Regions from separate parts of the Homo sapiens genome. Here region 2 is linked to region 1. Evidence: promoter capture Hi-C in human tissues and cell types (Jung and others, 2019). All regions are on one chromosome and are shown on one strand. Each heading gives the region's core, a stretch centred on a gene start or on the middle of the fragment in contact. The rest is flanking DNA. Distances are from core to core; before and after follow the strand shown. Region 1 holds the start of GPR151 (G protein-coupled receptor 151). Region 2 overlaps STK32A (serine/threonine kinase 32A).

The links. Contacts are between HindIII fragments. The study calls those that stand out against the background at their distance.
Region 2: a contact is called between a fragment that was not itself captured here and the fragment with the promoter of GPR151 in region 1, in 1 of the 25 tissues and cell types used here (dorsolateral prefrontal cortex).

Annotation. Positions count from the first base shown.
Region 1 is chr5:146,513,088-146,520,667 of GRCh38, forward strand. GPR151 (G protein-coupled receptor 151) reads right to left here and starts at 3,103. Exons shown (of 1, transcript NM_194251.3): 1 at 57-3,103. The coding sequence starts at 3,026. The coding sequence ends at 1,767. The HindIII fragment of the contact is 7,544 bases long and covers 1-6,087 here.
Region 2 is chr5:147,364,937-147,372,516 of GRCh38, forward strand. It overlaps STK32A (serine/threonine kinase 32A), which reads left to right. Exons shown (of 13, transcript NM_001112724.2): 9 at 5,718-5,834. Among named protein-coding and RNA genes, the nearest start is that of STK32A, 130 kb to the left of the region's middle. The HindIII fragment of the contact is 3,105 bases long and covers 2,867-5,971 here.

The DNA.
Region 1 (7,580 bases), core at 1,853-4,352:
TAAATCTCCAAAAACTATCGGAAGTAAAGCGTAATTATTTTTATTTCTTTACAAGTTTAAAGTGTCAAACCCTGGAAGCTTACATCCTAAATTTACTACATATAATGAACATAAAAATTATTTATTCAAATAATCACAGACAATGATAATCCTTTTTATAACTACCATATCACAAGACAATATTTTGGATTCTTGGGTTAAATTTTACTTTATTTGAATACATGAGCTTCAAATAAAATTTGTAATGAAGGATGTAAAAAGAATACAGCCCTACCTCCTGTGTTAAAAAGCAAACTATGACCACTTATGAAAAAGCAAAGAATCCGGAAACCCATAGACAAAAAGCAAAATCTTTTTTTTTCCATAACATATCCTTTATATTTCAGATTCTCCATGGCTTGGTTTGCCCTAAAGGCATTTCTATTCTGAGGGAAACTTTCAGTGAAAATACCCGAGTTCCATAACAAAGTAATCAAGAATCATGGGTGAATGTCATTATACTTAAAAGGGGCAGAAATATATCATAATCATGTTTTATTGGGTATGTTTTACCTTGCTATAAAATGAATGGTTATTGCCTGTTACTCAGATTTTACCGTATGTCTGGGTACACAGTTTTACTGCTTTCTGCATTGCCCTTATGCTTTTTATTTTGTATTCTTAACCAAATTCTGTCTTGGTTTGTTGAATTTTCTCTTTTTGATATTAATCTCTTTCTCAGGTTGCTAGATTATTTTTATAACTTAGCCTATAGTATTTTAAAAGTTGAGTAGGGTTCAAGTTCAATGTTCTGAGTAAGGGTAAGTTTAGTACCATTAACAAGAAAGATCACCATCTCCATCTTCTATTTGTATTTGAGGAGTAATCTATACCTATATCATTAACCATGGTTTATCTTGGGAGAAAGGAGATATTAGGAGGAACACATTTCTGCTTATAGAAAAATAACTTTCCCACATTTTGGAAGTGAAGAGAGGACATTTTTTTAAGTATTTTTTCCCCCATATCAGACTACTGAATGTCATTGGAAAGCTGCTACAATTCTTAGACTTAGAAACTGAAGACTCATTCAGGTAGCTTTAAAAAGTTCACTGAAGCAGGCTTTAGTTTAAGTTTGAATTTATTTAAACTTGGCCAGAACCAGCCATGGCTTGAAATGAGTCCAGAATTGGAATAAGGTGCTGTTTCTTTTTCTTTGACCTTCAGTCATGAACATTATGATACGGACTTTTCATCAAGTAAATTAACACTTATTAAGTAAATGAAGAACGCATTAAAATTTATCATTAATGTGTTAAAAATCTCAAGTGAAAGTAGATTTTGAGCTTTGGTTATGTGAAATACAATTTAGTAGGTAAAATTAGGACTAGCAGGTCCTGGGTGAAACTGAAGGTAAAGGGGCTCAGCTTTGACAGAACCTCTACTGCAGGCTCCAGCCGGTCCACTACAGGGCTGGTCCTAGGGGGTACCCAGTAAAACCACTGTGAACAAATGACAGAATAGCCAGGCTGTCTAATCACTTTGACAGCAACATCTTTACACAACACTTAAATTGTTTGGGAAGCCAAGTTCTAATTCTGAAACAATTATTACTTCTAACATGGTTCTCTACTTACCACATTGCACATTTGGAAAGTGTAGATTGTGAAATATTTTTATAATTCCTAATGGTAATAATTATATCAGTTTGTAAAGTCAGCAATATTGATAAGCAGCAGTACAAGTAAATACAATAATCACAGTTTGTTTTGCTTTGAAACTTAAATCTATTTAACACCTTCCCCTGTCTCTTGATCTTCATGTTCCCAGGGGATAGGGTCATTGTCCTGTACAGAAGGGACTGTGTCCCTCTCATGCCAAAACTGCTCTACGTCAGGAAGGATGGGAATCTCTGCCTTCTCAGTTTTCCCTTTGCCAGAGGAGGGAGAGCTGGGTTTCTCTTTTTCTGGTATGGATGCTGGGGATTCTGGAGATGGAACCTTGTCAGGAAGACCCTCTGAGTTGCCAGCTGGTGTTTCCTGAGACTCTGAGACAGTTGGAGGTTTTTTGGTTATCATCCATTTCCATACACCTTTCAAGCCTTCCCTGAACTCTTCCGACATCACAAGAAAAATGAGAGGATTTGCTGAAGAGATGGAAAACATCAAGACTTGAGACAGGGCTATGAAACCTTGTGGTGGGGCCGGGCCTGCAGCCTTCAGATGCCATACCCACAGCCAAGCTACCCATTCGGGGAGCCACAAGAGAGCAGAGATGATGGCAATGCTCAGCAGCATCACTGTGACTTGCTTTGAGCGTATCTGGTTTCTAAGATTTTGAGTCTTAGTTCCTCGTTTTTTACATTGGTCATAAGCTCTCCAGAAATAAAAGCTGGCAAAAAATAATGGAAGGCCAAATGCCAGGAGTGGGTAGAGCTTACCAAACATCGACATAAACTCTTCAGCCACAGCTGGTACATCCACGAGGCACATTTCCACACCTTCATGATGCCTGATGGTGCTAAAGAACCATTCCGGCAGGGGTAACAGGCTAGCCACAGTCCAGATGGCCACCAGCACTGACCAGATGGTGTAGTTGTGGATACTCACTTGCTTGGCTGGGTCACTTGCATACATGAAGCATACTTTGGCCACCACAACGATTGTCAGGCTCTTGGCTGCCATGCATGTGTGGATAAACCAGTCAGAGGACTTGCAGACAAACCAGCCTAGATCCCAAACACTTTTGGAGTACGCCGTAGCTCGGATAGGTGCAGAAAACAGCAGGAGGGAGAGATCAGCCAGGCTGAGATTCAGAATCAGGGAGTGGATCATGGATGGCTTTCCTTTCCAAGCATTGTGAAGGAGGATGCCAATCACACACAGGTTTCCCACGAAGCCCACCAGGCAGACAGCCACCAAGAGAGCCGGGATGATGGTTCTCCAGTCCTGGGAATCAGAGGGCAGGTACCCTCCGGCAAAGTGGAGGTGAGCAAAGGACACATTCATGCTGCTGGAGTTAGAGTCTGCAAAGGCAGCTGCCAGCATCACTCTTCACAGCTTCTTACAGAAGTTAGATTCTTATTTAGGTTTGTCTTTCTGCCTGGGCTCTTTTGCATAGGAAATAAGTACTCTGTCGTCAGTGTCAAATGACACTTCTGGATCCTCCCCTTGCTTATTTCCTGAGAGCAGAATGTGGAAGGAGGCTGGCTGTTAAGCTCTTCTCTGCTGCATACAATATACTTGTGACTGTACCGACTGTCAGATAGCAGGAGCACATGGCTGCTGCTCATTAGCAAGTCTAATACCAAATCGTCAGCCCTGTGGAGTAATACAAATATACCCATAAATGATGAATGAAGAGAACATACATGTAAGTGGCATGTGTTCCTTGGGGGGTCACTAGAGCCAGTCAAGGCAATTATTTTCAACCAGCTCTTCCTAAAATCTTGACTGCTGTCTGTAATTTAGTGAACACTACATCTGAACCAAGTTCTTTGAACTTCACCTGATGGCCGGATCCAGTGGGTCTGGAGTAGGGCCCAAGAAATCATTTCTAACAAGTTCCCATGAGACTCTGATGCTGCAGGTTGGGAGACCACACTTTGAGAACCACTGTTTTAAACTGAGAACTAAAGCTTCCCCTACCCACTCTGCAGAGATGAGCTTCCTCTTCTTTTCCCCAACCCTTACAACCACCTCAGTTCCATCAACAGCTGGCTGAGTTCAAACACAGCTGGATAATGAAAACAAGTTAGAAGTCCTATTAAAAAAATCTAATTATGGATGACTCTCAGTTTATTCTATTACGAGTTTTTAGAAGCAATTTTACAGCTCCAAATTAGAACTGCTTTACATACTAATAAGACTTTTCAACAAGTGATGGTGATGAAGGCAACTGCATGATGAATTAAGCTGCTTTTCAGAGAGCATTCCTAGAGGATTTACCAAGACAAGAGAAATGAAAGAAAAATCAATATCTATGTGGAAGGCATTTAAGAGATTTTTTTAAATTATATTTTAAAGTTGGTAAAGATTTTGTGCTGGGCACACTGGCTCATGCCTGTAATCCCAGAATTTGGGGAGGTGGAGGCGGGAGGATTGCTTAAGGCCAGAAGTTCGAGACCAGCCTGGGCAACAAAGTGAGACCCCTGCCCCCACCTCTACCAAACAAACAAGAAAAAAAAAAAAAAGAAAAAAAAAAAAGTCAGCCATGATGGTGTACACCTGTAGTCCTAGCTACTTAAGAGACTGAGGTGAGAGGGTTGCTTAAGCCCAGGAGTTCGAGGTTGCAGTGAGCTATGACTGTGCTGCTGCACTCCAACCTGAGTGACAGAGTGATCCTCTGTCTCTAGAAATAAAAAAATTCTCAGATAAGATGATTTGGTAGAACTAGCCCTGAAATTTTAAAATAAGCAATGGATACTCTGGGGGGATTAGAGGAGCTCAAAATGTTCAGAGAATGGGGTTTGTGGGGTTGATATGAAGATACATGCTACATTGAGTGTGGCTAGTCAGAAAAGCTAAAGCATGATATACAGGAGAGTATGCTGCTGCATTCAGATCTCTGGATTCTGGTACTGTGCTTTCACGTTTTTCGCAAGTAAAGAAGGGTCTGACGTTTTAAAATTCTTCAGTGTCCTAGAAAATAAATAAGTAGTGATCAGTATAGCTATTGGGACAGTGGTCAGTGGTGCTGGGTTCCTTTGTTTCCATTTCTATTTCCTTTTGCTTTCCTTCCTTTTACCTCTGGGAAGTAGTTGTTCCTATAGAACAGTAAATTGGGGCAACACCTTATTCCAGCAAGGCACAGTAACTCCCAGTAACTACTTAAGGATGAAATATCCTTGAGTCTCAACAAGCATCACTTTTGGGTGTGAAGAGGCCCGCAACGTCTTACAGGGAAGAAAATGGGGGAGGGAGCAGAGTGATGTTTTGCAGATTGTAGACTACAAGGAAGGTAGTTCACTTGATGTATGTGGAAGAGATTCATTCAGAACCAAGAAACAAATATACTGCTTCACACTGTGGCTTATATATTCAAGATTATGATATTCAAGCCTCCTGAAGCTGTATAAGATAAAAAGCTAAATGGGTTCAAGCCACCTTTAATACCATGGAAATTTGATTCTTAATAGACAATTGAGGGAAACTAAAGACTGTCATGTGGTACTTCCCAAGTCTATTGGTACTGACTCAGGGAAGCATCTCCTGGTGCTCCAGCTAGAGATAAAGTCTTTGGACTGAAGGATAATGAACTTTCTCCGCTCTTTTGGGGGAAATTTATTTTAACTTTTTATTTAAAAATAATTGCTTCTGGGCACGGTAGCTCACACCTGTAATCCCAGCACTTTGGGAGGCCAAGGCAGGTGGATCACCCGAGGTCAGGAGTTCAAGACAAGCCTGGCCAACATAGTGAAACCCCGTCGCTACTAAAAAATACAAAAATTAGCCAGGTGTGGTGGCACATGCCTGTAGTCTCAGCTACTCGGGAGGCTGAGGCGGGAGAATTGCTTGAATCTGGGAGGCTGAGGTTGCAGTGAGCCGAGATGGTCCCACTGCATTCCAGCCTGGGTGACAAAGAGAGACTCTGTCTTAAAAAATAAAAAAATAAAAATAATTGCAAATGTATAGAGAAAAAATGCAAGAAGAGCACAAAGAATTGCCCTATATACTTCATCTGAGTTCACCGATTAATTATTTATTGAGACACAGTCTCACTTTGTCACCCCAGGCTGGAGTGCAGTAGCGCACTCTTGGCTCACTGCAAGCTCTGCCTCCTGGGTTCATGCCATTCTCCTGCCTCAGCCTCCTGAGTAGCTGGGACTACAGGTGCCCGCCACCATGCCTGGCTAAATTTTTTTTTATATTTTTAGTAGAGACGGGGTTTCACCGTGTTAGCCGGGATGGTCTCGATCTCCTGATCTCGTGATCCGCCCGCCTCGGCCTCCCAAAGTGCTGGAATTACTGGCTTGAGCCACTGCGCCCGGCTGAAAATTTCAACATGTGATTTTGGAGGGCACATAAAGATTCAGACCATACTACCCAAGTTTCACATTTTACTTTGAATATTAGCCCTTGTATATCTGAGTATCTGATGGATGTTATATGTGGCTTGTATCTACATTTTCTTCATTTTAAAATTATTTCCGTATAAAGGATAAATGTAATTAGCAAACATAAAAGAAGTCTTTATTTGCATTATAAGTGGAAGTTATTTGAATCTTTGTTTATAGCATATTCACTTAAAACATAGAATTCAGTTGTAGATGTGGTGAACATTTGTCAGGTTTCCTTATTTTTATTTATTTTGGGGAGGTGCCTAGTATATGAACCTCTCCTGTTGGATAGAAGGGATTCTGGGGAAAAATGATATGGATGGGGTGGATAGAGCAGAACAATTAAAAACAATTGAGAATTATTTGAGATGGAAACTGGAAACAACCTCATCCCCACAAAATGCTGGAAACAACCCAAATGTTTATCAGCTGGTCAATAGATAAACAAGTGGCTACCTTCATGCCATGGAACATTATTCAGCAATAAAAATGAATGATAAATTCAACAATATGGATGAAAAAAAGCACTATGCTAAATAAAAACATCCAGACCAAAAAAAAAAATACCTACAGTAAGATTCCATTAATAGGAAATGTCCAGAAAAGGCAAATCTATAGAAACAGGAAGTAGAATAGTGGTTCCCTGGGTCCCGAGGTGTGAAAGGGGAGTGACCGCAAATAGGCACAGAGGATATGTTTGGGGTGATGAAAATGTTCTATGATTGCATTTTATGGTATGCAAATTATACCTCAATAAAAGCTCTTTTCAAGAAAGGAGTTATTTGGGATGGAGAAAAGGTAAAGAGCAGATTTCCCTGCTCTTGAAATGCTGAGTAGCCTCCAGCAGAATGGATATTCTATTCTGAGACTTTTAAATTTATTTTTATTTTTATTTTTTCTGAGGGCTCTGTCGCCCAGGCTGGAGTGCAGTGGCACGATCTCAGCTCACTGCAACCTCAGCCTCTTGAGTAGCTGGGTCTACAGGTGCCCGCCACCATGCCTGGCTAATTTTTTTGTATTTTTAGTAGAGATGGGGTTTCGCCATGTTGACCAGGCTGGTCTCAAACTCTGACCAAAAGCAATCCACCCACCTCGGCCTCCCAAAGTGCTGGGATTACAGGCATGAGCCACAACAGCCTATTCTGACTGATTTAAAAAAATAGTTTATGAAGAAAGAGACTGTGGCCTAGAGGGACCAAGCGAAAGGACAGTGCTGGGTGAGAAAGGATATGAGGGGAGCAGGGAGAAAGGGAGACTCAGAACGTAGAGACACAAAATTTGCTGGGTCCCTCTGATGCCTAGTGTCCCTGGCTTTAAATGGTCTTTCAGAAAAGCCTTCTCTAATTCCACACTTAAGCTAAGGCTGTAGCCACAGAGCAGCTGCCAACCCCAAATGCGTCAGCTGTGTCACTTTCCTGACACACACACCACTCATAGTGATGTTGCCAGGAGGTTGGCTCTGGACATTGAGAAGCAGTCATCAAACAACTGAACATCTGAGCTGTAGGCATATATATATATATATATATATATATATATATAT
Region 2 (7,580 bases), core at 3,169-5,668, 850 kb after region 1:
AAGACCAAAGAGTTGAAGACCTGACTTTAGGAGCTTGTTTATCCCACAGAACTAAAGAATTGGGTATCTCAAGTCATCATCCAGATACTGCAGCTCTCCTCTCCTAACTTTTTGGAGTCATTCTTTCTGCTGCTGTCAATAGCCCTCTTCTTTGGTCCCACAACACACCATCATGATTTCTGCATTAAAAATGCCATCTCCCAAGTAATTAACCTATTCACAGTAAGAACAGTTGTTAGAAGTTGGGGTTATTTCATCATGGTCCAATGGCTTTATCTTGCTCAGGAAATCAAAGATGAGTGTTTCTAAAGCAAAAAAAAGGAGGATCTCACAATTGTATCTGTTTCATTCACTCTGCAGGGTCCATTTTACACCCAAACATTCATTAGTTCATTGTTTGTACTCCTGCCTTTCCTGAGGAAGTCATTGTAGCACTATTTCTTAAGTATATTCAAATTTGGATAAGTTAGTCAAATTGATGTGAAAGGACCACCCTTGTAAGCCAAATGTGTAAGTCCTACATAGGGATATTACCTGTTTTTATCTCCTGATGGGCTTTTTTTTTTCAAGTTTCTAAATAAATCCAGTGAACAAGTAGATACGCTACTCATGATTATATAGGAAAACAGAGAAGAGAAACATACACTTACTTAAAAGTAGAAACATATCTGCTCTTTCCCACTTCACCCTTAATTTTTTTCTCCCCAGCCAATTTACTCACCTTCTGTGGCTGTGCTTCTGTGTTAGACCCTTGCTAGCTGCTTCTGGGGTTCAGAGCAATTGTGCTCTGCCCTCATCTTTTATGACACACCTAGCAAAACAGAAGCAGAGGAGCGAGTTGAAACAGACAAACGACTATCTGTTATTCTTCAAACATGCCTAGGATTGTATTTAACTATCACCTATCTAAAAGAGGTATTCTCGCCTGCCTGGAAAGAATTTTGCTAAGAAAATTGTTTCTCTTCTTCCCATATTATTTTACCTCTATGCTAGTTCCCTGTGATTTGATATGTCAACTTTGACAAATTCATTTTTCTAAAGCACAGATATGACCTTTTTTGTTAAGAAAAAGAAACTACTGTTGCTCCCCAGTGCTACACACACACACACACACACATACACATACACACCCTTCACAAGCCTTATCTGCACCCCCGCCCACTCCCCACAACAAACTTCAGATGTCTTAGCTTGGCATTCTTCGGAATTAGGTCAACGTTTCAGATTTTGCTTCCATTTGTGTATTTCTGACCCTTCATGAACTCATTTTGGCCTCTTAGAACTTCTTCCTCTTCTCAAAGCATCTCTTGGGTTTTTTAACCTCTTGTTCCTTCGCCTATAAAGAGAGTTTCCAAGGCAAACCTTGGTCTTCTTTAAAAATCACTCTGCGTAAGATTTGAAATCACTAAATGAAGTTTTAATAAAGGATATATCTTCATTGCAGGGCTTTTCAAAATCTTTATAGCCAAGTATTTTGGTCATTTCTAAGAAAGGACACACTATTAAACTATTCCAGTTCGTGTTGGGGAGGTTTTTCTAGATCTCTTTATATTCAAATTCTATTCATACTTTATCACCTATGACAAAATAGCACTTTCTCTAAAGAAACATTCTCTGACCTCCCTATCTAAAGTGATCCGAATCTCTTCCAAACATTTATTTACTTTATGTATCCTGTGAATCTTTGGAATCTAAGCTTATTAGAAAATATAGAAAACCACGAAAATGAAAGCAAAAATCAGCTGTAGTCTCTAAGGCAAAGAACATTTCCAATTAAGAAATTAAACTCCCTTTGACTTTTAAACCCCATCTTAGCAGTTTGTTGCATTCACTTCCAACTTGTTTCTGTTCTCATAAGGATACTCTATCTTCAGATAGATAGATATAGATAGATGTGTTGTTTTAGCAAAAATAGAAGTATGTTTTACCTTGTTGAGCCTTTTTTTTTTTCATTTCATAAGATAAAATGTACAGCTTTCTAGATCAGAACACCTAAATCTATTTTCTTTTTAAGGATTAAATCTATAGGCATATCAATTTTTATTTTTTATCTCTTGTATATTATTAGGTTGTTAATTCATTAAAGGTAAAGTATGTATCTTATATAGGTTAGTATTATTCACAGTATTTAACTGTTTTTTTTTTCCTCAGGAGAGTCTTGCTCTGTCCCCCAGGCTGGAGTGCAATGGCCCAATCTCGGCTCACTGCAACCACCCCCTCCTCTGTCCAATCAACCCTCCCGCCTGAGCCTCCCAAGTAGCTGGGACTACAGGCATATGCCACCATGCCTGGAAATTTTTTGTATTTTTTGTAGAGTTGGGGTCTTACCATGTTGCCCAGGCTAGTCTTGAACTCCTGGGCTCAAGCAATCCACCTGCCTTGGCCCTGCAAAGTGGTGGGATTACAGGTGTGAGCCGCCGCACCTGGTCACAATATTTAACTTTAAATAGGTATATAATACATGGTTATTTTCACTCACATCCATGTGAAGAGACCACCAAACAGGCTTTGTGTGAGCAACAAGGCTATTTCACCTGGGTTTCAGGTGGGCTGAGTCCGAAAAGAGAATCAGCGAAGGGAGATAGGAGTGGGGCCGTTTTATAAGATTTGGGTAGGTAAAGGAAAAAGGGGGGTTGTTCTCTGGTGGGCAGGGGTGAGGATCACAAGGTGCTCAGCGGGGGACGTTTTGAGCCAGGATGAGCCAGGAGAAGGAATTTCACAAGGTAGTGTCATCAGTTAAGGCAGGAACCGGCCATTTTCACTTCTTTTGTGGTGGAATATCATCAGTTAAGGCAGGAACCAGCCATCTGGATGTGTATGTGCAGGTCACAGGGGATATGATGGCTTAGCTTGGGCTCAGAGGCCTGACAGTTATTGAATGAATGGAGAAACAAATCACTTAGACACCTTCTAGGAAAAAATGACCAACTATGCTACCTGCAATTACGTTTCAAAATGTAGCTTATCTGAAGAAAAGGAAGTAACATTTAATTACAAGCATCAATACAACTCAAGCACAGAGGAAGTGTGCTAAACAATTTCCTCCATACGTACAAATTTTTATTTACAGAAAAGTATATGTCTTAATGAGAAAATGTGCTCGAAAACATTCTCATCATTTCTGAGTTTGGTTTCAGTCTTAATGAATGTGTCCCTTAACTATTAATCTGCTTTGTCATCTCTCTAACTCCCTACTATCTCATTGCCATTGCAAAGGCAAAGGTCCACATCTTTTATAGTTTCATATTATCCAAAAGTGTTAACTTAGGATAGATGTGTACATAGTTTTGTACTCATTGTACATGCTTAGCTGCAATTCTTTTGCCTTTGCACTTCTGAAATACAACCATATTCACAACACATCATTTGTTCCCTTATAACATTTCACCTTTTCCACTTTGTTTATTCTCTATATGCTCACTGTTAGTTTAGATGCTGCCTTAGGCTTTTATGATATATACTGTGACTGCATACTGTAATTTTTCTCTATAGCATGTATCCCATTTATTTAAGTGTGTGTGTGTGTGTGTATACAGTCTATATAATAAATTTACATGCTTCCTTAAGTAGACTGTAGGCCCCACCAACATAGAAACCATATGTGTCTTGTTCTTCATTGTACCCTCAATGCCTAAGAAAGGTGCTGGAACATGGTAGGCATTCAATAAATAATTGGTAAATAAATAAATATACAATTCTGGTAGTTGATTAATTCAAATTAATTTTAAAATTTAGAACTGTAAAAGTAAATTAAAAAATAAGATAAAGACAATGTGATTATTTTTTAATAAACCAACAGGTCATGGAGATTTTAAAAATTAAATTCAGTCATATGGCCTTGTAAAGTAACTAGAGAAAAATGTACACACTTAAACCAGCTGCTTGTGGCATTCATCAGTTAATTCATTTGTTTATAAAATCATTTTATTTTCTAGGTGGCCCAGAAACAGTAGGTTGAGAAGCAGCAATGAATTAAAATCAAGAAGAAACACAGAAAAAAGTAAAAACACATGTGCATACACATATAAGCCTAGAAGCTTGAGTATACTAAGCCTAATCTGATTCTTAATGATAAACATGGTCTGAATCATATGGAGTAACCTAACCCTTTGGCTACTAAATTACCAATAAACATTGATAATGGTGATAAAGCATCTAGCACTCCTTTACTGATATTGAGTTAATGAGTTATTTCTACTATATAATTACCAAGACATATGATATAGCTATGGTCCTTTATTTAGTGTTGAGGGGGTAAATATGGCAGTTGTTTTTAGATCTTACTTAAAAAGCAAAAATGTTTGAATTAATCTCCCTTTCAAGGGCCACCTCCTGGCACTTCATGGTTCCATGAATAGCTGACATTGACTTGCCATGTGTAAAATTAAGCTTTTCTTCCCATCACTTTTCTTGAGGACTCATTTTGCTGTTCACTATTCATTCACATTTACATATGCCCATTTTTACCTTTGTGTCAATAATGATAAAAATCTCTCTCTTATATTGTGTCTAATACTATTAGCCACTCACTCTGTTGAGAAATTTACACATATTATCTCCTTTAATTTTTCCAGCAATCTCATGAGGTAGCTCATTTTACAGATGAAGTAACAAGCTCAGAAATTGAGTGGAGAAGTTTAGCACCAAATCCTTTTAACCTCAAACACATGATTATTTTATATTACCTCTTAACACTGATTTACTACAGGGAAAAACTTAAACCCTTTCATTTCCCCCAATTTAGGTCATCCATCAACAGTCATTTATTAAATATCTTAAAAGGGCCAGGCATGTGATCAATGTGTATATCCATATTAACTGTGCTGTGGCTAGTTAATCGAATATGGAAATTTTGTTCATTAAATAAACATGTATTGTGCACCTACTGAATGCTTGGTCTCATGAACAAGAATGATATAATCTCTGGCTGTGAGTATCTTACAGTTCACATAAGAGACATGAAATTTCAGTGTTGGTGAGTCCCCTACAAAATAATATAGATAAAGGCTGTCCTCTAGTGTAAAGCTGTGAAAACTACAGCTAATCCACAGTTTTCTTTTGTTTAATTTCTTTTCTTTTTAAATTACTTTTCTTCAAAATTAAAACTGTAGAAGAACCTGGTTCTTCCCCCAAAATTTTTTTTAAAAGCTTCTGCCTCATCACAAAATTCTCCACCCTGCCATACTCTGTGGAACCAGGGACTCATAGCATTTGTGGGACTGGAGTTGATGTTTTCTGAGCAGTTTTCTGTCCTGAGCTTCCTCATTATGTTGCAGTGAAAGGGATGGTATGGTAAAATTCTGGATTTACTTGCAATCAACCCTTACATAATAATTTTTTAGACTTCCATTTATTGAGGACTTGTCCAGTATTTCGTGTTAATACTTATATAATACCTTATAAAACAATTTCAAATCAGCATCTCAGAGGCTGATTCAGTCCACTTGAATGTTTTGTTTGGCTCAGTGGAGTGTTCAACTTTAAAATTTATGGTATTTTAGAAGCGACCATAAATTCCTAGTGTCTCTTTAAGAAAAAGTAGGGGGTCTGGCAACACAGGACCACCTACACATATGGCAACGCAAGAGTCAGCTGGACAGGGTTAGAAATTGATATAGATATTTTATCGGTTGAAAGTTTAGCTTGGAAACATTTGGAAATTTTTTTTTTCTTTTGTCCTATACAAATGAAGACTTTTACTTCTTTTCTCCCTTAAGAGACCGTATCATATTCGCTCCAGTACTTCCAGCAAGGAAATTGTACACACGTTTGAGACGACTGTTGTAACTTACCCTTCTGCCTGGTCACAGGAAATGGTGTCACTTCTTAAAAAGGTAAGAAGGAAGACTGCATGTCCAAACGAAGTAACAAAAGGAAGCAGGCTCTCTGGCTTAAGTTTAGAAGTTAGTATACAATATTGGGGACAGTCATGATAGTATACATTTGTAGAGTGTATTTTCTAGCTGTTAGCTTTCAAATACATGGCTTCATTAACTCAACTCAGATTCCCCTTGGATGTCCCAAAGCCATCTTAAACTCAAAGGACTTCTTTATCTTTGTCTTTCCTGAATATCTTCTCAGGAAATTCTCTCAGTGACTGGCTTCTCTATCCAAATCCACTTACGCCAGCCAGCAACCAGGACTCATTTGTCATCTGCGTATTCAATTCATCACCAGGTTCTGAAATTTTATATTTTAAGTATTAAAATATTTCACTTCTCTCTGTCCTCACTACTATTTCCCTGATCCAACTGCCATCAGTCTAGCCTTATAACGGGTTTGTCCACATACACTTTTACCACTCCATTCTATTCCCCATGCAGCCCCACAGTGGTCTGTTAAAGGACAGTCCAGGATATTTTCCTTATTCTTAGAATAAAGATTAAAATAATTTTGTGGTACAAAAGTTCAAAATACCTCTCAAGCCTTGTTTTGGACTTTTGGACTTTTGTCCCCCCTTTGACTACACATAAACTGCTTTGGCCTTTTTCTTCTTCTTTTCTTTCTTTTCTCCTTCTTCACTTTTACATACCAGTCTTCCTCTCACCACAGGACCTTTGCACATGCCAGTACCTATTCCTGGAACAGTGCCTCCAATCCTAGTTCCTCCAGTTCCTCCTTGAGAGCAGTACTACTCAATGTGGTTCACTGGTTCTAGTCCATGAATTTTTTCTGCAGGTCTATTGTAAGTAAAGAACTTGAGAGAAGCATTTAGAAACTTTTATAGCAATTGGACACTGCTGTAGCATCTAAACACATGATCAATGGACTTATCTTATTGAAGAGGGTCCAAGCTTGTTTGACGGTTGTTGAACTCAAGTCACAAGGTGTCTATGTGGGGTGCTGCATACTGGCAATGCATAATAAGACCACATACTGATTTCAGTGGATTGGAAATTGAAACAGACAAAAACAAACAAAAATAACTGACCCTTCTACATAGTTTGGGAAGCACAACTTTAGCTCTTAGCTCAAATATCACCTTCTTGGTGTAAGTTCACATAACACTATCTTTCCTTCATAGCATTTTTCAGTTTAAAATTATACCCAGCATTTGTGTGATCCTTGGTTACGTACCATTTTCTTCTTAGCTTCATGAGGGTAGGGACCATGTCTGACATGTGTTACCATTGTATTCTCAGCATCTAACACAAAGCCTGAGAAGTGAAATTTGACAAGTATTCAAATAAATGAGGTCCACAGCTTTCATCAGATTTTCAAGGTACCCATCTTCATCAAACAGATGAAGAACAGTTATAGCGGGAGGTCAAAAGTGTATATTGAGTGATGATACAAAACAAGAATGAGGGGCCCAAGAGGAATGGGCTTGGCCTTTTTTTTTTTTTTTTTTTTTTTTTTTTTTGAGGAGAAAATTGCACCAGTTGTGGCTGGTAATGGAAAATAGCTTTAGTGGCTAAGGAGTCATCATTTGTGTCTCTTGTTTTTGGAGTCAAGTTCCTTATTTTGGAATAGGGACATTGCATCAGTAATGTCAAAGACATAGAATGGGGGATCATTTTTCATAAGCAAATTCTGCTTAGTTCCAAGACAGCCCTGCTTCACTCCACAAATTACACCCT